Regions from separate parts of the Homo sapiens genome. Here region 1 is linked to region 2. Evidence: promoter capture Hi-C in 16 types of primary human blood cells and fetal thymus (Javierre and others, 2016). All regions are on one chromosome and are shown on one strand. The core of a region is centred on a gene start or on the middle of the fragment in contact, and the rest is flanking DNA. Distances in the headings are between cores, read along the strand shown. Region 1 overlaps LINC02328 (long intergenic non-protein coding RNA 2328). Region 2 holds the start of LINC01148 (long intergenic non-protein coding RNA 1148).

Region 1 (5,676 bases), core at 1,597-4,096, 840 kb after region 2:
TAATGCAAAATATATGTATTTTACTATAAAAAGACAAAAATAAATCTATTTTAAAGAACATTTCCACATTTTGAAGCCAGGACCAAAACTCTGCTTTGAAGTGAAAATACTGAAATTTTTAATAACTTAAATACCCTTTGGTTCATACCATTTTTCCTTGCCAGGAAGCAGTAGCATGGCTGTGATCATTAAGTAAATTATGTAAATTAAATATATGATACAAAATATATAATAAAGACAACATTTTTAACATGATTGCTACTAATGTCTTATAGTCTAATTTGCAACACATAGTGTTTCACTTGAAACCATTCCAAGATTCCATGACTATATTAAATTTAATTGCAACTTTAAACTTTTGAAAGTGAGAAGAGTAATCCCTTGATTGTTCCTATTTCCCCTCTGTACTAGGTTTTTAAATTCTTGATCAATTGTGTTAGACACCACCTTGGGTTTGTCCTCCCCTTCCTCAGCAAAGCAATCCAGTAATGAGACTAAATTTAGGAGCATTTCCTTTCATTCTAGCCTTCCTTGGTTTGGTTTCACATCAGTGGGCCCATTATGCACTCCAACGGCCCTGTAAATAACTTCTTGCTTTGCTTTGGAGTTATTTGACTCTCCTGCATTTAGCCATCCTTCTAGGCTAATTCAAAGCATATCTAAGTTAAAATTCAACCTTAAAAAATAAAGCACTTAAATGGACATCTCAGGATTAAAGAAAAACATCACTAAGTTGACTTTGCATATAATGTTTCTATGATTGCAGAAGCAGAAGGAAGAATTTCATTAAGACCCAGTGCGAGTAACAACAAAATAAAATGATTGTGGTGAGCCTCAGCCCAACGGCGACATCCAGGAAACTGACAGAGCTGAGGCAGCTCCTAGGATGTCAACGCAAAGGTTGACAGAGCCTGCCAAGGAACCAGATGCTGATGTCAGACAGAGACAGGAAAAATGGACCACAGTTTGTTATCTGTTTCCTGTGATTAGAATCAGCATCAACCCTCACTCTCTTTTTCAGATTAATTAATAAAGTCTGGTGTGAAGAATTTCAATAAAATATTTGTTCAAAAGGGAGAAAAGAAACATCTGCTTTAGAATTGTTTTCCCCTTTAGTCAGAGTCTGTAAAATGTGTGTACGTTGGTTTTTTTCTGTGCCTACATTTGGTGGACATTAAAACAATGTTTAAGCACAGTAAAATGTAGTAGTGTTTACCTCCGATTTTAGAAGATACTTTTCTCAATATTGGTGCCAGTGTCAACATTTAATATATGTTTTTTACCTTTTCCTCCTCTCTCTCTCCCCCCCTTTCTTTCTCTTTCTTTCTTCCTTTCTTCCTTGCTTTCTTCCTTCCTTCCTTCCTTCCTTTCCTTCCTCTCTGTCTCTCTTTCTCTCTTTCTCTCTCTCCCTTTCTTCCTTCCTTCCTTCCTTCCTTCCTTCCTTCCTTCCTTCCTTCTACTACTACAACAACAAAGCACATCTTTCTGTCTTGGATGTTTTCTTTAAGAAGTAAAACTGGCCGGGCGCGGTGGCTCACGCCTGTAATCCCAGCACTTTGGGAGACTGAGGCAGGCGGATCACGAGCTCAGGAAATCAAGACCATCCTGGCTAACACGGTGACACCCCGTCTCTACTAAAAATACGAAAACTTAGCCGGGCATGGTGGCGGGTGCCTGTAGTCCCAGCTACTCAGGAGGCTGAGGCAGGAGAATGGCGTGAACCCGGAAGGCGGAGCTTGCAGTGAGCAGAGTGTCCAGCCTGGGCGACAGAGCGAGACTGTCTCAAAATAATAATAATAATAATAATAATAATAATAATAATAATAATAATTAGAAATAAAACTCTATATTAAGACCAATCACACCTTTCATGGCACCAAGCTCAAATGAAACCATGATAAACTGTGAAAACCAGAGGTGTCTGTGACCTAAAACAATTTTTTAACCTCTTAAATGCAAGGGCTATGTGAAGAATGCGGGTTTTCTTTTCCCCCCAACCTCTTGCATGACAGTCACTCGTCGATTAGAAAAAACACAGCATGGCCAAAGGCAAGTACAAATTGTAATCAAGTTTATAGTTTGTAAATTAAAAACGTATTACATAATAGAAAAGTTTCCTCTTTTCTATAGAAACATGATGAAAACAACACATACTTGAATAGTGATTTACAGTCTAGCTGTACATGTGTACATGTATACTACCTTATTTAGTCTTTATAACAAAATTGAGAGATGCAGAAACTGGATATCGTAGACTTACCCAAAGGCAAACAGCAAAAAAGTCATGGAACTCAACTTCTGGATTTGCTTTTCCAATTCCAGGACTCTTACAGTTACACTACCAAAGCTTCAGAAAAAAAAGCACCTATTAGAGAAAAAAAAAATATGAAAGCTGTATACAAATATTGGTACAACTTTTCAAAATGCTGGGTCAAATACAGTTCTTTCTCAAGGAAGAAGAATTAGATGAATAGACAAACACACATTATTCCAACCGGGAGTTTCATTATCTCCTTTTTCCCCATGTGTTTTAAAGGATGTGTCAGACTGCATTAGGATTATTTAAACAAGGATGTGCCATTTGAGTCACTAATATTAGATTACTTTGTCATCCATCATCTCATAGGTTTTACAATCCTATTTTCATAAAAAGAGAGTAACCGATGCGCTCAAGTTCAGTTAGGAGTAGCAGAGCCAGTACACAATTAAGGCATTCTTTATCTGAGTCCATTCACTGACTATCTCTTCCTCTATCTTAGCTATCTCTATTTATCTCTAGTCATCTACTTATCTAGCAAAATATAATTCACTGCAATATCCTTTTCTGGGAAAATTATATGCACCTTCTTCCATCACCTCTATGAGGGTGCACACAGACAATACCTCCATGACACAGTCTAGAGGGGTGGCCTCTGAAGACGTCTTACCTGTGGCGTTTTAAGATGGATGCCTGTGCTTTCTTAGTCAATAGTCAAAGACAGAAAAATAAACCAATTATGTATGAAATTGAGAATACCAATTATTTACTATTAACGTATACATAAATTTAGTTTATTTTAAAGGAAAGGTCATCATATACTTTTCTGAGAAAGGAGCACTCTCTCCAGATAGTTAAAATATTTAGAAGCATGATTTCTCAGTGAGAGTATTATTTATGGTTTGAAGATCTGCCCTGGAGCCATTTTGAAATCTGCTTATCAATCTTTTAAACCCAACTGAAATCTTCTGTCTGCTTCTTGTGAGATTCGGTAGAACAATTAAGGAACTTGTAGAACATTTTTTCCTAATCTCAAGTCATGCTCCTTAAAGTTTAAGTGGAGAGGGCTCTATAGATGAAGAAGCTTCAGGATAGACTATTCCACATCTAAATTAAAATCAGAGAGGGCTAGAAGATTTCTTTCACAGCTGTTGAAGATAAGGCTAAGAAACTATATCTAGTGCCTAAGACAGAACCACATCCACCATGAATGATAACAGAATTTACCTGAAAATTTAAAGGTTGGGGACCAATGTGTAACCACTAGAATTACTTTTTTTTTAATCTAGTGGTTTATTTACATAAATTATTTTGTTAAGTAAATTATGAAATGTGTAAAGCATAAAACTATAAGGTGCTCTTTAATTTTAATGACATTATAATAAATTTAAAGATATCTTAAATTTACCCTATTTGAGTAAGATATAAGACGAGATTCATCAACTGATGACAAATACATAGTTGTATTTACAACTGGCAACACATATTCAGGCACTTTGAAAATTTCTGGCCATATATGCTATGTACACTATGAACATGGAATCCAAGTGACAAAACTGGGGCAAATATGACACTTCAATCAGCTGATAATGCAATATTGATATTTCACAAGTAGCTCAGTGACTTTGCATAGCATTTAGTTTCAATAACCAGGTTTGATATTTAACTGAAGGATTTCATTTTTTCTTTAACATTGGCTTTTTTGAATATTTATTTTAATCTTACTTCTCTGTTACTGTATCTTTCTTAGTCTGCTCAAGACTCCATGGACTGGGTGGCAGGTTAGAAGCTAGAAATCCGGTGCCAGCATTGTTGGTTTCTTGCCAGAAATGCCTTCTTGCTATGTTCTCACATGGCAAAGAGAGAAAGAGACAGCAAGCACTCTGTCACCTTTTTTATGAAGGCCACCAATCCCATCGTTGGAGATTGAGGACATTAATCTCTACTCTCATGACCTCATTTAAATCTAATAGTCTCCCAAAGACCCCATCTTCAAATACCATGACATTGGGGGTTAGGGGTGGTTACAGACTGCAGGTTTATGTCCTCTCAAAAGTCATATGTAGAAACCTAATTACCAATGTGACGGTATTTGGAGGTGGGTTCTTTGAGAAATGATGAGATCTGGAAGACAGAACATTCATGAATGGGATTAGTACTCTTACGAAAGGGATTCCCGAAAAGTCCCTCACTCCTTCTGCCATGTGAGGACACAGGGGAAAGACAATCATTTATGGAAAACAAAATGGGCCCTCACCAGACATTGAATCTGCTGGCACCTTGATATTGTATTTCCCAGCCTCCAGAACTATCATAAATAAATTTCTGTTGCTTATAAGCCAGCTAATCTATGATATTTTGCTATAGCAGCCTGAGCTGTCTAAGATAGATCTCAATATATGCATTTTGGAGAGACACAATTCAGTCCATAGCATTTCATCCTGGACTCCAAAATTCATGTCCTATGTCATTCTCATATCCAAAATACATCCTTTTCATTCCAGTAGTCTTTTAAACATATGTTAACAATTCTGACCATTTATAGGAATGATTTTATGATATGTGGTCATAAAATATTATACTAAAAATCATGATTAAATATATGGAATTAATTTCTATTTTTCCACTTAAATACAAAAATATACAGAATTATTCACATATTTTAAATAATTTGAAATCAGTAGAAATGTGTTTAGCATCCTTACCTATGATAAGATTAAGAAGCTGATGAGCATGAGCAAACATAACATCTTGGATATTAAAGAGGTGAACTGGTAATATGATTATGCCAATGCTAGACATATTTAGTTCACATATGTTTACAACTAAAACAATATTGGAAACAACCTAAATATAAAATAATTGGGCTTTATACTTTCCTAGGAATATCTATTACGATTATCAAACTATACTTCTGCAGAATTTTAATTATTTAAAATCAAGCACAATATGCGGCGTTATGTCTTTACATGTTTGAACACAGAACACATGTTGTAATTTTACATGTGTGTATGTGATCTACTTAAGAATAACTGTTTTTTAAATTTAGTACCGTTAACCTTCAGCAACATTGGAGTGAGGGGCACTAACTCCGTAAGCAATTAAAAACCTGTGTATAAATCTTGACTCCCCCAAAACTTAACTACTAATAACCCACTGTTGACTGGCAGCCTTACTGATAACATAAACAGTCAATTAACACATATTTTGTATGTTATATGCATTACTTACTGGAATTCCTTTAAATTTTTTAAAATAAATTAACTTATTTTTTTCCTTCTCTCTATACATACACACAAACATATGCACACACACACATATTCACACACACACACACACACCCTACTGGTGTTGTTCTCTAGGGAACACTAATACACTATCTTTCAGAGAAAAGCAAATGCTAAACTATTTATGTACCA
Region 2 (5,932 bases), core at 1,142-3,641:
TGGAATACACATTTCAGTTCTCTGAAGACATTTTCAAGATTTGTCTAATTACTCTCTTTCTTCATAATGGTAAATAAATTATTTATCTTACTGCAAAAGTTCATTTTAATGAGGCATTTAATAGAATATTTTCATAAGACCTGGACACAGTAGCTGTCACAAAAAATAACTGGATAGGAAATAGTGGAAACTAATCTTTCTTCTGCATTTATTTGCATTAAGTACTTACATAGGTGTTATTTAATCTTCAGAACAGCTCTAGGAAGAAGATGTTGTACATAACTTAACACATTAAGAAGAAAATTGAAGAAGTGAAGGAACTTGTCCAATCACATGCATCTAGCCAGTTTCAGCAGTGAGGTTTCTGTCTAGTTTGCTGTGCCTTAAAATGTTTGTGCTCCGTGGTACTTTATGCTGTTCTTTTCTTCTGTAGGAATTAGGGCTTAACCCATTTTTGACTGAGGCAGTTCAAGTTAAATGTGATATGGAGAAATTACCTCTACAGCCATATAAAAAACAGCAGGAAAAAATGCCATTTAGAGGAATCTTTATGGAAAAATGAGAAGCAAACTGCTCCTTTATGAAAGAGAACTTTAAAAATCAATTAAAATGAAAACTAACGCAATTAATTTCCTTTAGGACTTAAAAAAATCAGTGCTAAAGCTTGAAATAAATGGATTCTGTTAAAACCACTGGAAACTAGTTATTGATTCTGTTATTATTATTTATATTCATTGTTGGGATAAATAGAGATATGTCATTGATTATCACTGCCATGAAAACTGAGATTTGAATATACCACAAGAGTTCTCATCTCCTGATTTAAAAGAACTTTTCATATCTGTATCTTTTAAAATATTAAAAATAAATCTTCAATATTTTTGTTCATTTATAAAGCTACATCATAGGTTTTAAGAATATTAATACAAACAAAGGATTTCAATGAAAAATATGACGCATGAGGAAGTTTATTCGGAAAGATGACATTGAGTTTCTAGCCCTTTAATATACATAGGGTTAAACTATAAAAGCGCTGAGATAAATCTTTGCATGTGCTACAAGGTATAATAATTATGACTGGCTTAAACTATAGACTCATTTGATGTGATCAAGTGATGCCCACGTCTTATAATTGAGGGACATTATTTGCCAAAAACCCCTTCTCAACATGTGCTCCATAATGCACCTGAAGTACCTTCATTATCATAACATGACTTTATGTTTAGCATTACCCTCTTTTCTGGAGTCTTCTTTTAAAATGTTGATATTTCAACAATTAGATAACCTCCCTTCTTGACAGGATATTCCTGACCAATATAGGAAGAAAATAAATTATTTTGTTATGAAAGACAGAAGACAACAATAGCAAACTGCATACTCTACCACTGTATTTAGAATCAGTCTCAAATTTAGCTGGACTTCACATTCATGGATTCAGCTTTACAGGTTATGTAATATTTTGAGATATAAATTCACATTGGAAGACTTGTCATGAATAGACCAAGAATCCTTAATTCAAAGCATCATTTAGAAATGTTAATTTTTGTCAATCAATACTAAATAATCTTCTGGGGTTTCCCTCGGTGATATCCTAACACTCAGTGGATGTCATTTTTATTTTATTTTTAATATCAGTATCATCTATATTCCTCTTTTTTTGGTTCTATTCAACAAACTTTTACTGATCACCTACTATAAGCCAGGTTATCTCTAGATACTTGGATTACAAATATAGATATGTTGTTTCTTCCACCTTGAAGAATTTCAATTTTCTAAGAGGGGGCAATCAGGGGACACAAAATTACATAGACTTCCTAAATGACCATACTTTAAGAGTAAGAGGCACAAAACAAACCAACCAACCAACCACCACCAACAACAAAAAACAAAAACAAAAACAAACACCCATAATTTATAAAGGGTATAGTATTTGGGGAGGGGGTGAAATTGACACTAAAACTTTCTGTGTAAACGGAAAAATGTTGTTTTTAAAACTGTTTTAAAATAGTTTCTGTCTCTTTAGAGGTCGATTTATCTTGGGCAAGCAATAAATACTTTTGCTCTCAGAAAACCGCCAAAACTTATTTTCTTATTAGCTGAGTAGAAAACAAGTACTCACCATTGTGGCTATGGAAGACATAAGCAGGCCAAAGGCATCATTCACCTAAGTAGAGACGAGGTGACAGCGTGCTGTCAGTCCTCACAGCCCTCGCTCCCTCTTGGCGCCTCCTCGGCCTTGGCGCCCACTCTGGCCACGCTTGAGGAGCCCTTCAGCCCGCCGCTGCACTGTGGGAGCCCCTTCCTGGGATGGCCGAGACCGGAGCCGGCTCCCTCAGCCTGCAGGGAGGTGTGGAGGGAGAGGCACGGGCGGGAACCGGGGCTGCGTGCTGCGCTTGCGGGCCAGCTAGAGTTCCGGGTGGGCGTGGGCTTGGCGGGCCGCGCACTCGGAGCGGCCAGCCGGCCCTGCCGGCCCCTGGTAGTGAGGGGCTTAGCATCCTGGCCAGCAGCTGTGGAGGGTGCGCCGGTTCCCCCAGCAATGCTGGCCCACCGGCGCTGCGCTCGATTTCTCGCTGGGCCTTAGCTGCTCCCCCGCGGGGCAGGGCTTGGGACCTGTAGCCTGCCATGCCTGAGTCTCCCCGCCCCGACGACGCCGTGGGCTCCTGCGCGGCCTGAGTCTCCCGGACGAACGCCGCCTCCTGCTCCAAGGCGCCTGGTCCCATCAACCGCCCAAGGGCTGAGGAGTGCGGGCGCACGGCGCGGGGCTGGTAAGCACCTCCACCTGGGGCCCCAGTGGGAGATCCACCAGGTGAAGCCAGCTGGGCTCCTGAGTCAAGTGGGGACTTGAGAATCTTTATGTCTAGTTAAGGGATTGTGAATACACCAATTGGCACTCTGTATCTAGCTCAAGGTTTGTAAATGCACCAATCAGCACTTTGTGTCTAGCTGAGGGTTTGTAAATACACCAGTCAGCACTCTGTATCTAGCTAATCTAGTGGGGACGTGGAGAACTTTTGTGTCTAGCTCAGGGATTGTAAATGCACCAATCAGCACCCTGTCAAAACGGACCAATCAGCTCTCTGTAAAACAGACCAATCGGCTCTCTGTAAAATGGACCAATCAGCAGGATGTGGATGAGGCCAGATAAGAGAATAAAAGCAGGCTGCCTGACCTAGCAGTGGCAACCGTTGGGGTCTCCTTCTGCATTGTGGGAGCGTTGTTCTCTCACTCTGCAGTAAATCTTGCTGCTGCTCATTCTTTGGGTCCACACTGCCTTTATGAGCTGGAACACTCACTGCGAAGGTCTGCAGTTTCACTCCTGAAGCCACCGAGACCACAAACCCACCGGGAGAAAGGAACAACTCCAGACGCGCCGTCTTAAGAGTTGTAACACACACTGGGAAGGTGTGCAGCTTCACTCCTGAGCCGGGGAGACCACGAACCCACCAGAAGGAAGAAACTCCGAACACATCCGAACTTCAGAAGGAACAAACTCTGGACACGCCGTCTTTAAGAACTGTAACACTCACCGCAAGGGTGGTGGCTTCACTCTTGAAGTCAGACCAAGAACCAACCAATTCCAGACACAGAGATATGTTTGCCATACAAATTATTGTTCTGCCGGGTAAATGAAGTTGCATGTATCTTTCAATATAAAATAAGTGCAAATTTTATATGCCTGTTTGGGAAAAATAGTACCTTTGTTTGATTTAAAACACTTTTCTTCTGTTTTTAAATTTTAGACTTTTCTAATGGAGTTGTATATAGCTGTTTTTGAGCAGCTGTTTGTAAATGAGAAGCTGTGATGGAAGAATCTTAGGAAAGTGATGAAGGCTGTTCTTTATTTCAACCCTAAAGAGACTATGAAAAGGAACTAGACTGAGCAAACACTAAACTTGGATTATTGTGTTGTGATGTGATTGTGTCCTTTAGGCCAAAGGCGAATACCCCAACAGTATGATTGGGAGTTGGGTTTCTCCTGAAGGGAATGGCATTTCCTACAATCGATAAACCTGGGAAGAGTTCAAAGATGGGACAGGAAATAAGGAATTGAAACACGCGGCCTGGATTTTTAAACTTCATAGGGGACAGACTCTTTTGCTATTATGTCTACTCAAGGTCGAGTAAACACAGGTGTTCACATGATGATGATGCCTTGGTTGCGTGTAAAAAGACTCAGAATTTAAGTAATTCGAGTAACTAATTACTAGGCCATATCAGGAAATGACTGACTTCCAATTGCCAAATGGCTTGTGGTGCCATCATTTGAACAATCCCAGATTGAGTTCCATTAATTGCAATGATAACAGACAAACCACTGTGTTATGCAATTATGAATACAAGGTCATTGTTGTGATGTCTATAAAATGCCTTAATGTGGGGGATAATCTTCTATGTACCACATTGGTGTTGCCAATACATGTTTCTGCCGCAAAACAGACAATAGACCCAGAGATTCTGTTCCCCAATAAATTGCCACTAGGGGGCAGCAGGAGTTTATTTAATACAAAGTAAAATCAAAAGTATTTTTTTCTTTTCTCTTTTTTTTTCTTTTTGAGACAGAGTCTCGCTCTGTTGCCCAGGCTGGAGTGCAATGGCACAATCTCAGCTCACTGCAAGCTCCACCTCCCGCGTTCACGTCATTCTCCTGTCTCAGCCTCCCGAGTAGCTGGGACTACAGGCGCTCGCCACCACGCCCAGCTAATTTTTTGTATTTTTAGTAGAGACGGTGTTTCCCAGTGTTAGCAGAATGATCTCGATTTCTGACCTCGTGATCCTCCCGCTTCGGCCTCCCAAAGTGCTGGGATTACAGGCGTGAGCCACCGCGCCTGGCCTAATCAAAGTATTTTCTAAAGTACCAATGTTCATACTAGCAGTAACAAAATAGAGGTGTAGTAATGAGTTCTCACTGACTTTTCTCTTTTGCAGATTGGTTTTTAGAAGACTATAAGCAATCAAAATAAGACTAGAAGAAAGTCTTGAAGCACCTTTGACTGTTTTCAAAGAAAGCAGATGGATGATATCTGGATTTGCCTGATGCATCCTAATCTGTACCAAAGAAACTGTATTTCAATGGTTTTGTCTCTTTCTGTGTTACAAGAGCAGCCACTCCACTGCTCTTTCATTCAGTGTTTCCATACAAACCATGTTCTATGTCATTTTCATAATTTTCAAATGACTGAATCTTCAGTTAAGAGAATTATTTGATCTCAGAGACTTAAATCCCTAATCAATGCAGAAAAAAATTTAATAGGAAAGCTTCAGCATAACTTTCATATATTGTAAGGCACAGAATCCTGTTATTTCTCTTCCTGAATGATTCCAAAATTTCCCTCCCCCTCCCGCTTCTACTGCCTAAATTTAAGTCTGTTATCTCTCCCCTGTGTCATTACAAAAGCCTCCTAATTTGTCTCCCTGCAACTGGTGCCTCCTTCATCTGACTCAAGCTCTCCCTGCAGCTAAAGTTTTTGTTAATGCGACTGGATAAGAGTTCTGTCTACTCTCCCTTAGTCTCGTTTGTGGGTCCTTCGTCCTCTTTCTGACCTCAAAATCTCTATCTTCTATGTTAGTCTTAACCAATTTATACTCCTTCCCTAAGGGATATCATATTGTCCAATGGCAGTAGAGACCAGATTAATGTTTTGGACTCTCTTCAGTCCCTGAGTTGTAACATTCGTTTTCACATTCATTTGAATGTTGAATAAGCATCTCAACTTCACAAGTCCAAAATAGATCTCTTGATTTCTCAAGCTCCCACCAACCAGTGCCTCCGGCCTTCTCCATATCTATAAATGGCATCATCCTGACTTTGTTATTCATGCTCAGATCATGACTCTCTCTGCCTGAAAATCCATATCACATTCATTACCAAGTCTTGTCAGTTTTGCCTGCAAAATATTCCCAAGAATCTATCTCTTAATCCTCTGTCACCACC

Evidence for each region. The method cuts DNA at HindIII sites, captures the fragments that hold promoters and counts their contacts. A CHiCAGO score of 5 or more calls a contact.
Region 1: a fragment that was not itself captured here is called in contact with the fragment with the promoter of LINC01148 in region 2 in 2 of 17 cell types (M0 macrophages and M1 macrophages); the score reaches 9.5 in M0 macrophages.

The regions. Positions count from the first base shown.
Region 1 is chr14:86,067,552-86,073,227 of GRCh38, reverse strand. LINC02328 (long intergenic non-protein coding RNA 2328) reads right to left here. Exons shown (of 4, transcript NR_110155.1): 2 at 2,261-2,365. Among named protein-coding and RNA genes, the nearest start is that of LINC02316, 7.4 kb to the right of the region's middle. The HindIII fragment of the contact is 994 bases long and covers 2,350-3,343 here.
Region 2 is chr14:86,902,237-86,908,168 of GRCh38, reverse strand. It overlaps LINC01148 (long intergenic non-protein coding RNA 1148), which reads right to left and starts at 2,391. Exons shown (of 5, transcript NR_038445.1): 1 at 2,120-2,391. The HindIII fragment of the contact is 4,593 bases long and covers 666-5,258 here.